Linked DNA regions of Homo sapiens: region 1 is linked to region 2. Evidence: promoter capture Hi-C in 16 types of primary human blood cells and fetal thymus (Javierre and others, 2016). All regions are on one chromosome and are shown on one strand. Each heading gives the region's core, a stretch centred on a gene start or on the middle of the fragment in contact. The rest is flanking DNA. Distances are from core to core; before and after follow the strand shown. Region 1 holds the start of C1QTNF4 (C1q and TNF related 4). Region 2 overlaps MADD (MAP kinase activating death domain).

Region 1 (5,717 bases), core at 120-2,619, 280 kb after region 2:
GCATTCCCTTTTACAAAGTTCTTTTAGACACATGGTCTTGGCAAACCTACAAGACAGGTGGGCCGTCTCCCATTTTATAGATGAGAAAGCTGAGGCCCAACAAGGGAAAGCATTTTGGCCCAAGGTCACCCATGGAGCACTGAGGTTTTTTGACTCAAATTCCGTATGCCTTCCTGTCACTCTTCCCTCCTAGACACAGGTATGTCCAGCCAATTTGTTCTGTGCCTCAGTTTACCTTTTTGCAAAACTAGGAGAGGAGATCAGAGGAATGAGTCTTGGGATCCAGGGTGAGGAAGACAGAAAGCAAAACCAAACAAAAGCAAGCAAACACATTCTCTAGTGTTTTGTCTTCTGGGAACACGGAAAACAGCTCAGCTTTTCCATACCGCTGCTTTCCTAGTGGGTCCTGCCCCAGAAGCAGCTGCCCAGCAACCTCCTGACCAAGGCTGGTGCACCCCACCAGTGCCAAGGGTCTTCCTGTGCACCCAGTACCCAGCCTCCGTTTCACCCACACTGCCCAATTCCCAGATCCCTGGATCCTCGTCCTTCCCTGAACCCCCTTCCCTGAGCAGGTCAGAGGTGTGGGAGGGTGTGTCAGGTGGGTGTCATAGCTCCAGGGAAGGAAATGGCTGTTCCTGGCTCTGTCCAGGTGGGGTTCAAAATAGTCATCTTCAAAGAGAAAAACTGGGACACAGAGCTGGAGAGACCCAGAGCCCCGGAGCCAAGGCGGGAGGTGCAGCGATGTCAGGCTGAGGGGATCGCAGAGTTCCCCCTTGCCCTGCCACTCACCAGTTAACCCTTCCCTCAAGCCCTGCCAGAGCCCCCTCCCCAACCTACCTTGAAAGCCCCTCATCCTTCCAAGAAGTCCCACTTTCACAGAAGCCAATTAATCCTTATTTTTAAAAAACAAAAACCAATCCCTCTCCCCCGAGACCTTCCCTCCATCCATCCATCCCTTTGGAATGAAAGCCCTTGTGCCTGTTTCACGAAAAGGCTCCCAGGTCCTCCTTTCAAGGAAAAAGGACCCAATTTCCCCGCGCCTCCCCAGCCCTCGCTTCCAGTAAAGGGGGAACCTCGGCTCCCTGCCTCCCCTCAGCTGCCCTCACCTGGCTGGGGGCGGCGGTCGAGTCGGGTTCGGTCTGAGCCCGCGATCTGGCTCCGGGCTGCGGGCTGCGGGCTGCAGGCTGCAGGCTGCGGGTGCCGGGCTGCGCGCTGACCGCCCGCGCTGCGGCAGGGGCGGCGGGGGCTCCGGCTGCTTTTCCCGGCTCTGAGGCGGCAGCGGACAGGGTGCTGGGGCCAGGGGCCGGGCGTGGGGAGGCGTGAGGGAAAGGGAAGGTCAGCTAGAGAGGGAGCCGAGCGAGAGCGAAGAGGCGGGGGAGAGACGGGAGGGGGAGAGGAGGGGAGTAGGGGAGAGGGAGGGGCGAGCTGCGGGGCCTAGGGGCTCCGCACGGAGTCTGCGCCGAGCACTGGACCCTTCCTCATCTGTGACCTCCTTAGAGCTTCGTCCTCTGGGTCTAGAGAGCAGGCATCATTAATCTGAGCAGTTGGGGAAACTGAGGCCAGAGGCAGCAGCTAACGCGGGGTGGCCCAGAGCGCTCTACAGTCCAGCTTCCTTCCTAGTGTGGGGAGAGAGGGCTAGAGCTGGACTCAGAGGCTGGACTAGCCTTTGGGCTGCAAGGACAGTGGAAGGTGAGATTTTGGCTGGGACAGATGTCCAAGCTAAGTGGCCTTGGGGGAGAGGTCTGAAGGAAGAGAAGGATAAATGGGTCAATGTTGCCAGTAAAGGAAGAGCTGAAAATAACCTAGTTTTTCCTCCTCACCTCCAAATTGGAAAATGCCCACGGTCGGTTAGGAAAGAGGGAGAAGGGAGTCTGCAGGCATCAGAGGGGCAGCCTGCGTTCCCCGGGGTGAGGGGCAGTAAGGAGGAGAGTCCTTGGGGCAGAATGGAATTTTCTGCTGGGAAGGTTGCTCCTGCAAGAAGGGACAGGATTGAGAGGGCAATAGGTGGGGAAGAAAGGCCTCTGGAGAGGGAAACTGATGCCCTGCCTCGCTGGGGCCAGGCTAGCAAGAGTCCAGCAGGGCACCCGGGCTGGGAACAGCGGTCTTCCCATGGTAATACTCACCAGAGGCACTAGTGCTGGCCTCTACTCTGGGCTTCGAGCCCGTGGGATGGGGGCTCAGACTCCCTTTCTCTAGGCTGCTGTTCTCTCCCCTGACGGCTGTAGAGGTGACGACACTGCCTGGCACTCAGTAGATGCTGACTGAGTGGATGACTTTTGAAGAGCTCTACTTTCAGCAGCCAAGAGCTGGTGCCCTCTGCCTGGCCCTGGTTGACTCCAGAGCCATGGGCTCTAATTCTGCCTCTGCTGCAGGTCTGCTCTGTGGTCCCTGAGAGGCCTGGACCCCTGCAGAACCCCCGTCCTCTGGAGCTTTCCTTTTGGAGCTCTCAAAGTTTACCCCACCCCAGTTAATCTATTTGTCTCTAGGAAGATGTTGGTAGAGGTGATTGGCTCTGCTTCAAGGGTGTTAGGTGAATGATGGAATGAATTAACGAATATGTGCCAGAATAGAAAGGAATGAATGGAGGTGTTTTGGGCTGGATAATGAGGGTATTTGGTGACAGAGGGTGAAGCACCTGTCTAGCCCTTGTCAGATCACAACTGTCTCTTTCACCAACTTGAAAAGCTTGGGCCACAGGACTGTGGGGAGGACAAGAAGCAGGGTAAGGGTGGGATGAGCCACACAGGGATGTCGAAGGAGAGCTGGGGGATGCCAAAAGCCAACCTATGGCAATCTATGGCCCTTCTTAGGGCCATGGGCCCCTTCTGGATGAGAAGAGTGGAGCTGCTCTCCTGAGGGTGATTCCAATGGTGGGAGGGGAGGGGAGGGGAGAAGGTATATTATAGGATAATATAATCTCAGTTGAGGTTTGGTTCAGGCTGGGATTTGACACTCCCTGGATCCACAAGAGTTCTCACCAGAGAAGTGAGGGTTGAGGTAGAGATGGGTGGCTGGGGCAGATGACATCAGGATTTGCATCAGGGGACTGGGATAGGGAGGAAGCCACTGGGAAAGGGATATAGAGAAAGATGATGCCATGAGCTGGTGGGTGTAAGGCAGATGGGTGGGCTCCAGAATGGGAGTTAAGAAGAGGTGGCAGCAGGATCCAGAGAAAAGCCCTAGGCTGGTTATAGTCCCTGCTCCCTCCTCTCTTGTTTTGCAGCCACAATTTTATTTATTTTTGAGAGAGGGTCTTGCTGTGTCACCTGGGCTGGAGTGCAATGGTATGATCTTGGCTCACTGCAGCTTTGACCTTGCGGGCTCAAGTGATTCTCCCACCTCAGCCTCCCAGGTAGCTGGGACTACAGGTGCAGGTCACCATGCCTGGCTAATTTTTTTTAAAATTTTTTGTAGAGACGAGGTCTCACTCTGTTGCCCAGGCTGGTCTTAAACAACAATTATTTTATTTATTTTTTAATTGAGACGGGTATGGCTGGGCATGGTGGCTTACGCCTATGATATTAGCACTTTGGGAGGCCAAGGTGGGAAGATCGCTTGAGCTCAGAAGTTTGAGACCACTCTGGGCAACAGAGTGAGACCCCATCTCTCTCTCTCTTTTTTTTTTTTTTTTCTGAGACAGACTCTCGCTCTGTTGCCCAGGCTGGAGTGCAATGCTGCGATCTTGGCTCACTGCAACCTCCGCCTCCCGGGTTCAAGCGATTCTCCTGCCTCAGCCTCCTGAGTACCTGGGATTACAGGAGCGCGCCACCATGTCCGACTAATATTTTGTATTTTTAGTAGAGACGGGGTTTCACCATGTTGGTCAGGCTGGTCTTGGAACTCCTGACCTCGTGATCCGCCCGCCTTGGCCTCTCAAAGTGCTGGGATTACAGGCGTGAGCCACCGCGCCCAGCTGTCCCCATCACTTAAAAAAAAAGTTAAAAAAATTAACATTAAAATATATATAAATTGAGACGGGTTCTTTTTTCTTTTCTTGAGATGGAGTTTTGCTCTTGTTGCCCAGGCTGGCGTGCAATGGAGCAATCTTGGCTCACCGCAACCTCCCGCTCCCAGGTTCAAGTGATTCTCCTGCCTCAGCCTCCTGAGTAGCTGGGATTACAGGTATGCACCACCACCCTGGCTAATTTTGTATTCTTAGTAGAGATGGAGTTTCTGCATGTTGGTCAGGCTGTTCTCAAACTCCTGACCTCAGGTGATCCGCCCGCCTCAGCCTCCCAAAATGCTGGGATTTCAGGAGTGAGCCACTGCGCCTGGCTGAGATAGGTTCTTACTCTGTCACCCAGGCTGGAGTGCAGTGGCACGATCTTGGCTCATTGCAGCCTGGGCTTAAGTGATCCTCCCCCGTCAGCCTGCCACCACGTGGCAGCTAATAAACAACAATAATTTTTATTTATTTTTATTTTTTGAAATGGAGTTTCACTCTTGTCACCCAAGCTGGAATGCAATGGTGCGATCTCGGCTCACTGCAACCTCCGCCTCCTGGGTTCAAGTGATTCTCCTGCCTCAGCCTCCTGAGTAGCTGGGATTACAGGCGTATGCCACCACACCAGGCTAATTTTTGTATTTTTAGTAGAGATGGCGTTGGCCAGGCTGGTCTTGAACTCCTGACCTCAAGTAATCCACCTGCCTCGGCCTCCCAAAATGCTGGGATTACAGGCGTGAGCCACGGTGCCCAGCCAACAACAATAATTTTAATAGCAGGTTCCTTTCACTGAGTGTAGTAGATGCTGTCAGTGGCCCACCCACACCTCCAGGCCTACCAGGAGGGCACCCACAGACAGTTCCTGACCAGGCGCCTACTTCCTGTGTCCCTCCTGAGGGCATTTTCAGCTATGGGAGTTAGTGTGGGGCAGGCCCAAAGGGCTGTAGAGTTAATACCCCCAGAGCAACCATCAGCCAATGGTCCAGAGTTAGGGGTAAATACCCCAGCTTTCTGGTCCCTCGATGGGAGCATTCCAATTCCCAATTCCAGGTCATGTTTCAGACTCAGAGAGACTCCAGCAGAGTTAAGTTCTCCATGGTGAAAACCCACTGGTATCTGTGCGCTTTTTTTTTTTTTTTTGAGACGGAGTCTCGCTCAGTCGCCCAGGCTGGAGTGCGGTGGCGCGATCTTGGCTCACCGCAAGCTCCGCCTCCCGGGTTCACGCCATTCTGCTGCCTCAGCCTCCTGAGTAGCTGGGACTACAGGCGCCCGCCACCACGCCCGGCTAATTTTTTTTTTTGTATTTTTAGTAGAGATGGGGTTTCACTGTGTTAGCCAGGATGGTCTCGATCTCCTGACCTCGTGATCCACCCATCTTGGCCCCCCAAAGTGCTGGGATTACAGGTGTGAGCCACTGCGCCCGGCCTATCTGTGCACTTTATTCTGTTTCCTCTCTTTGTCTCATTTCCCCGCTCGCTCACTCCGCTTCTTGGGATCACAACTCTCTCCTTCACCAGCTTGAAAAGCTTGGGCCCCAAGACTATGGGGAAGACAAGAGGCATGGTAAGGGTGGGATGAGCCACACAGGGATGCCGCAGGAGAGCTGGGGAAGGCTGGAAGCCAACCTAGGGCAGCCACAACCCTTCTTAGGGCCATGCAGCCCTTCTTAGGGCCATGTGTCCCTTCTGGATCAGAAAAGTTAATGCAGGAGTAGGATTTAAACTCAGAGCTATCTGGCTCCCAAACCCAGTCCTTAACCAGTATACTCTGCAGC
Region 2 (5,712 bases), core at 1,445-3,944:
GAAGGGATCAGTTGATCAAATGCAGAGAATGCCCCCAGCCCCTCTTGGTGTGCTTCATTTCCTGGTGTAAGTTGCACTGTACTCTGTGGAATTTGGAGGGTACCAGTTGACTCTGGCTGAGAAACGATGATGATCCCTAACCTTCAGAGATGTCTTGGCTACCCAGTCTGGTGTTGCCACTCTAAGTCATTGTTTCTGAATTACACTATGAAGAGCCTTGGGTGTTTTTAGAGCCCTTGTAGGGGTGAATGTTGTGGTATTGAGTGGGGATAGGGAGAAAGTGTCCCCTGGAACCAGAACCGCTCTAAGAGCCACTTTTCTGCAGAAGCTAACTAGAGACAGAGCCAGGACTTTTCTTCCCCTCATGGTGGCAGAATACACAGTTGAAAGTTTTCTCCCATGTTCAGTGATGTGGTCTTTCAGAATTCCACTTCTCTCAGATGGTGGGAAGCCCACTTGTACATTCTCTTTTCTCTACCTCAGTCGGGAGGAGAGCAGATCCCTTGTTAAGAGTCATGTGTTGGCTTTTCAGGTAAATAAGAATGACATCCGCAAGAAGGTGAGGCGCCTAATGGGAAAGTCGCACATTGGGCTTGTGTACAGCCAGCAAATCAATGAGGTGCTTGATCAGCTGGCGAACCTGGTAAGCACGTCTGGCCACCCCTTAGGCTTCCCCATGGGTCATTTCTTGGTTTGTGTCACTTGCAGTCCAGTTCACCCCGTTTTTGAAAATGGAGCAGTTGTCTTTGACTGTAAATGAGGCATTAGTCCCTGTGTTCTGTGATGGGATTCTCTGTATAAAACCATCGTAGTGCATCAGTTTTGATGTGTGGTCTGTGAACTGCTGAGGGTTCAGAAGGTGAAAACGATTTCAAATGATTCTAAAATGTTATTTGCTGTTTTCACGGGGTTACATTTGCACTGATGGTACCAACGCAGTGATGGGTAAAACTGCTGGCACTGTAACCCAAGTGAAGACAATGGCCCCAAACTATGCCAGCAGCCATTGCATTCCTTGCCTTCATATACTCTCAGTTTTTCGTTTTTGTTTTGTTTGTTTGTTTTTTGAGACTGACTCTCACTCTGTCGCCCAGGCTGGAGTGCAGTAGCGCAATCTTGGCTCACTGCAACCTCCACCTCCTGGGTTCAAGCGATTCTCATGCCTCAGCCTCCCAAGTAGCTGGGATTACAGGCATGTGCCCGCCCACCCAGCTAATTTTTGTATATACATATATATTTTTTGAGACAGAGTTTCACTCTCTTGTTGCCCAGACTGGAGTGCAATGGCGCAATTTTGGCTCACTGCAACCTCTGCCTCCCGAGTTCAAGCAGTTTTCCTGCTTCAGCCTCCCGAGTAGCTGAAGCTCCTGAGGTTACAGGCATGCACCACCACGCCCAGCTAATTTTTGTATTTTCAGTAGAGATGGGCATTCCCCATGTTGGCCAGGCTGATCTTGAACTCCTGACCTCAAGTGATCTGCCTGCCTTAGCTCCCAAAGTTCTGGGATTACGGGTGTGAACCACCGCACCTGGCTTACACTCTTAGTTTTTTAAAAATGCCAGTTGTGCTTGTAAATGTCCTTGAAGAAGCAGTGAAGACTGTTACTCTTATTAGATTGATTAATTATAAATGTTTTTAATATTCTTTGTGACAAAATGGGAAGTACACATAAAGCATCTCTGTTGCAAACCCAGTATGATGGTTGTTTTGAAGAAAAGCAATTTGCAGCCTTGATTTGTTCACCTTGAGTTGCAAGTGAACTTAATCGCTTTGTTCATTGAACATCATTTTTACTGGAAAGGACAATTAATAAACCATGGTTATTCAGAGTACCCAACTGGCAGACATTTTCCTTCAGTTAATCAAGTGAGCCTGTTGTTTCAGGGAAAACAACTGACAGTATTTGTTGCCAATGATAAGATTCAGCTTTTAAGTGAAAATAAGAATTTTGGCAGAGTTTTGAACTTGAAGCTTCCCAATATTTAAAGACTTTTCTAATGAGATTGGTGGTGATATTAATGAATGTGATTTTTTAAACATTGATTTAATATTACAAAATATGTCAACATTTGGAAGAGCTGTGTAACTCAGTGAAACACTATTTTCTTTCTTTTTTTTTTTTTGGAGACGGAGTCTCGCTCTGTGGCCCAGGCTGGAGTGCAGTGGCAGGATGCTGGCTCACTGCTACCTCCGCCTCCTGGGCTCCTGGGTTCAAGCAATTCTCCTGCCTCAGCCTCCTGAGCAGCTGGGAGTACAGGCGTATGCTGCCACACCTGGCTAGTTTTTTTTTTTTTTTGTATTTTAATAGAGACGGGGTTTCACCATCTTGCCCAGGCTGTGGTCTTGAACTCCTGAGTTTAGTCAATCCGCCCACCTTGGCCTTCCAAAGTTCTAGGATTACAGGCACCCAGCCAACAGTATTTTCTAAATACCAATGTATGATGTTGTAAATTCAAGTATGGATAAAAGATCTACTCAAAATGCAAGGCAGAGATATGGATCTTAATTTTTAAATAACATTTTTTTTCAGTCTGGGGAACATAGACCCCATTTCTTTTTGTTTGTTTGTTTGTTTTTGAGACGGAGTCTCACTCTGTCACCCGGGCTGGAGTGCAGCGGCGCGATCTCGGCTCACTACAACCTCCGCCTCCCAGGTTCAAGCTATTCTCCTGCCTCAGCCTCATGAGTAGCTGGGATTACAGGTGCCCGCCACAACGCCCGGCTAATTTTTATGTTTTTAGTAGAGATGGGGTTTCACCACGCTGGTCAGGCTGGTCTCCAACTCCTGACCTTTTGATCCGCCCACCTCGGCCTCCCAAAGTGCTGGGATTACAGGTGTGAGCCACCGCGCCCAGCCAAGGGAGACCCCATTTCTACAAAAAATAAAAAAATTAGCTAGGCATGGTGGCATGCACCTGTAGTCCCAGCTACTTGGGAGGCTGAGGTGGGAGGATCACTTGAGCTCAGGAGGTTGAGGCTGCCGTGAGCACCACTGCACTCCAGCCTGGGTGACAGAATGAGACCCTGTCTCAAAAAAAAAAAAAAAGTGTATGGAGAATAGGGTCTCACTTTGTTGCCCAGGCTGGTCTCCAACTCCTGCCTGGGCTCAAACGGTACTCCTGACTTGGCCTCCCAAAGTGTTGGGATTATAGGAATGAGCCACCATGTCTGGCCTAAATGGATTTTAATGTAACAATGTAAAATGTTCATTGATGTGCTTTCAGATTCCACACTGCAACTAACTTTCAAAAGCTGCTTTTGCTGGGTGTTGTGGTTTATGCCTGTAATTCCAGGTACTTGGGAGGCTGAGGCAGGAGTGTCACTTAAGCCCAGGAGTTCAGAGCTGTGGTGGGCTATGGTCATGCCACTGCACTCCAGCCTGGATGACAGAGCGAAACCTTGTCTCTAAAAAAAAAGAAGCTTCTGCTTCCCAAGTTCTGGTGTAGTGTTAAAGAAGAATACGTCTATTTATCTGAAAAGGCTATGAAAATCCTCTTCCATTTTCCAAATACGTATCTCTGAGGTCAAGTTTTTTTCATATACCTCAACCAAAGCAACATACTGCAACAGACTCAATGCAGAGGCAGATAGGAGAATGCAACTATTTGATTCTAAGCCAAACATTAAAGAGATTTGCAAAAATGTGAAACAGTGCCTTTTTTTTGAAAATATAGTTATTTTATTAAAAATGTTTATATTACTATGTAATGGGTTATATTAATCATTAATTGTTTTTATAATTAATCATTTGAGAAATTTCTGTTTAAATTTCTAGTATGTAAATATCTATAAATATAACTCACATAAACAAAAGCTCTTTGGAATCTTCAATAAATTTTAAGAGATATAGGGCCTCTGAGACCAAAACATCTGAAACCACTTCCCTGGTGACCAGTGGCCAGCAGATGAGACTGTGCTGAGGAAGCCGATATGAATTTGATTGCTGGATGGGGAATTCTTGGCCCAGAGCCCTCTGAGAGGGATGTATGACTGTCCCTAAAAAATCTCTCTTTCATCAGAATGGACGCGATCTCTCTATCTGGTCCAGTGGCAGCCGGCACATGAAGAAGCAGACATTTGTGGTACATGCAGGGACAGATACAAACGGAGATATCTTTTTCATGGAGGTAGGTGCTGGTTCATGCTGGGGGCCCAAAGGGCTATTGAGAGTCACAGGGAACTCATAGGACCGATGCCAGGATATTTTTCTCATTTATCTCATTCATCTTCATGATCTATTTATCATTAAATTATCAGATTGGTTTTTTTGTTTTTTGCGTGTGTGTTTTTTTGAGATAGTGTCTCGCTCTGTCACCCAGGCTGGAGTGTAGTGGCTTGATCTCGGCTCACTGCAACCTCCGCCTCCCGGGTTCAAGCAGTTCTCCTGCCACAGCCTCCCAAGTAGCTGGGATTACAGGCGCCAGCCACCAAGCCCAGGTGATTTTTCTATTTTTAATAGAGATGGGGTTTGATCATGTTGGCCAGGCTGGTCTCAAACTCCTGACCTCAAGTAATCCACCCACCTTGGCCTTCCAAAATGCTGGTATTATAGGCATGAGCCACCGCACCCGGCCAAATTATCAGATTGTTATTCAAATAATTAAATTTTATATAGTAGATGATACCCATTTCTTTTTTTTTTTTTTTTTGAGACAGAGTATCGCTCTGTCACCCAGGCTGGAGTGCAGTGGTGTGATCTTGGCTCACTGCAGCCTCCACCTCCCAGGTTCAAGCAATTCTCCTGCCTCAGCTTCCTGAGTAGCTAGGATTACAGGCATGCGCCACCATGCCCGGCCAATTTTTTGTATTTTAGTAGAGGTGGGGTTTCACCATGTTCGTTGGCCAGGCTGGTCTTGAACTCCTGACCTCAAGTGATCCACCTGCCTCGACCTCCCAAAGTGCTGGGATTACAGGTGTGAGCCACTGCGCCCGGCCCCATTTCTTTTATACACGTGCGCGCGCACACACACGCGCACACACATATACATAAAGATATCTATATATAGATGATATAGTCACATTGTTCATAAATCAGAATAACAGAAAATAGTACACATTGGGAGGTCTTGCACTCATTCTTGTCCCCTTCCACTGAATTTCCCACTCCCCTCACCCCTTCATCCTATAGACAACCACTTTTATTGGTTTCCTTTGTAAATTCCAGTGGATTTTTTTTTTCTTTTTCTTTTTTTTTTTTTTTTTTTTTGAGACGGAGTCTCACTCTGTCGCCCAGGCTGGAGTGCAATGGCTTGATCTCAGCTCACTGCAACCTCCACCTCCTGGGTTCAAGCGATTCTCCTGCCTCAGGCTCCCAAGTAGCTGGGATTACAGGCGCCCACCACCGCACCCAGCTAATTTTTTGTATTTTTAGTAGGGATGGGGTTTCACCATGTTGGTCAGGCTGGTCTCCAACTCCTGACCTCACTGATCCACCCGCCTCGGCCTCCCAAAGTGCTGAGATCATAGGCGTGAGCCGGTGCACCCGGCCTTCCAGTGGACTTTTATGCAAACAATAAAATATGAACACAAATTCTTATTTTCCTCCTTTCTTTTTTTTCTTTGAGACAGAGTGTTGCTCTTTTGCTCAGGCTGGAGTGCAGTGGTCCAAACTCAGCTCACTGCAACCTCTGCCCCTTGGGTTCAAGTGATTCTCCTGCCTCAGCTGCCTGAGTAGCTGGGATTACAGTCGCCCACCACCATGCCCAGATAAT

What was found. The method cuts DNA at HindIII sites, captures the fragments that hold promoters and counts their contacts. A CHiCAGO score of 5 or more calls a contact.
Region 1: a contact is called between the fragment with the promoter of C1QTNF4 here and a fragment that was not itself captured in region 2, in 1 of 17 cell types (M2 macrophages). The highest score is 5.6, in M2 macrophages.

What each region holds. Positions count from the first base shown.
Region 1 is chr11:47,593,042-47,598,758 of GRCh38, forward strand. It overlaps C1QTNF4 (C1q and TNF related 4), which reads right to left and starts at 1,370. Exons shown (of 2, transcript NM_031909.3): 1 at 1,107-1,370. The HindIII fragment of the contact is 4,016 bases long and covers 1-2,683 here.
Region 2 is chr11:47,311,200-47,316,911 of GRCh38, forward strand. MADD (MAP kinase activating death domain) reads left to right here. Exons shown (of 37, transcript NM_001376571.1): 29 at 533-643; 30 at 4,021-4,128. Among named protein-coding and RNA genes, the nearest start is that of MYBPC3, 39 kb to the right of the region's middle. The HindIII fragment of the contact is 1,449 bases long and covers 1,971-3,419 here.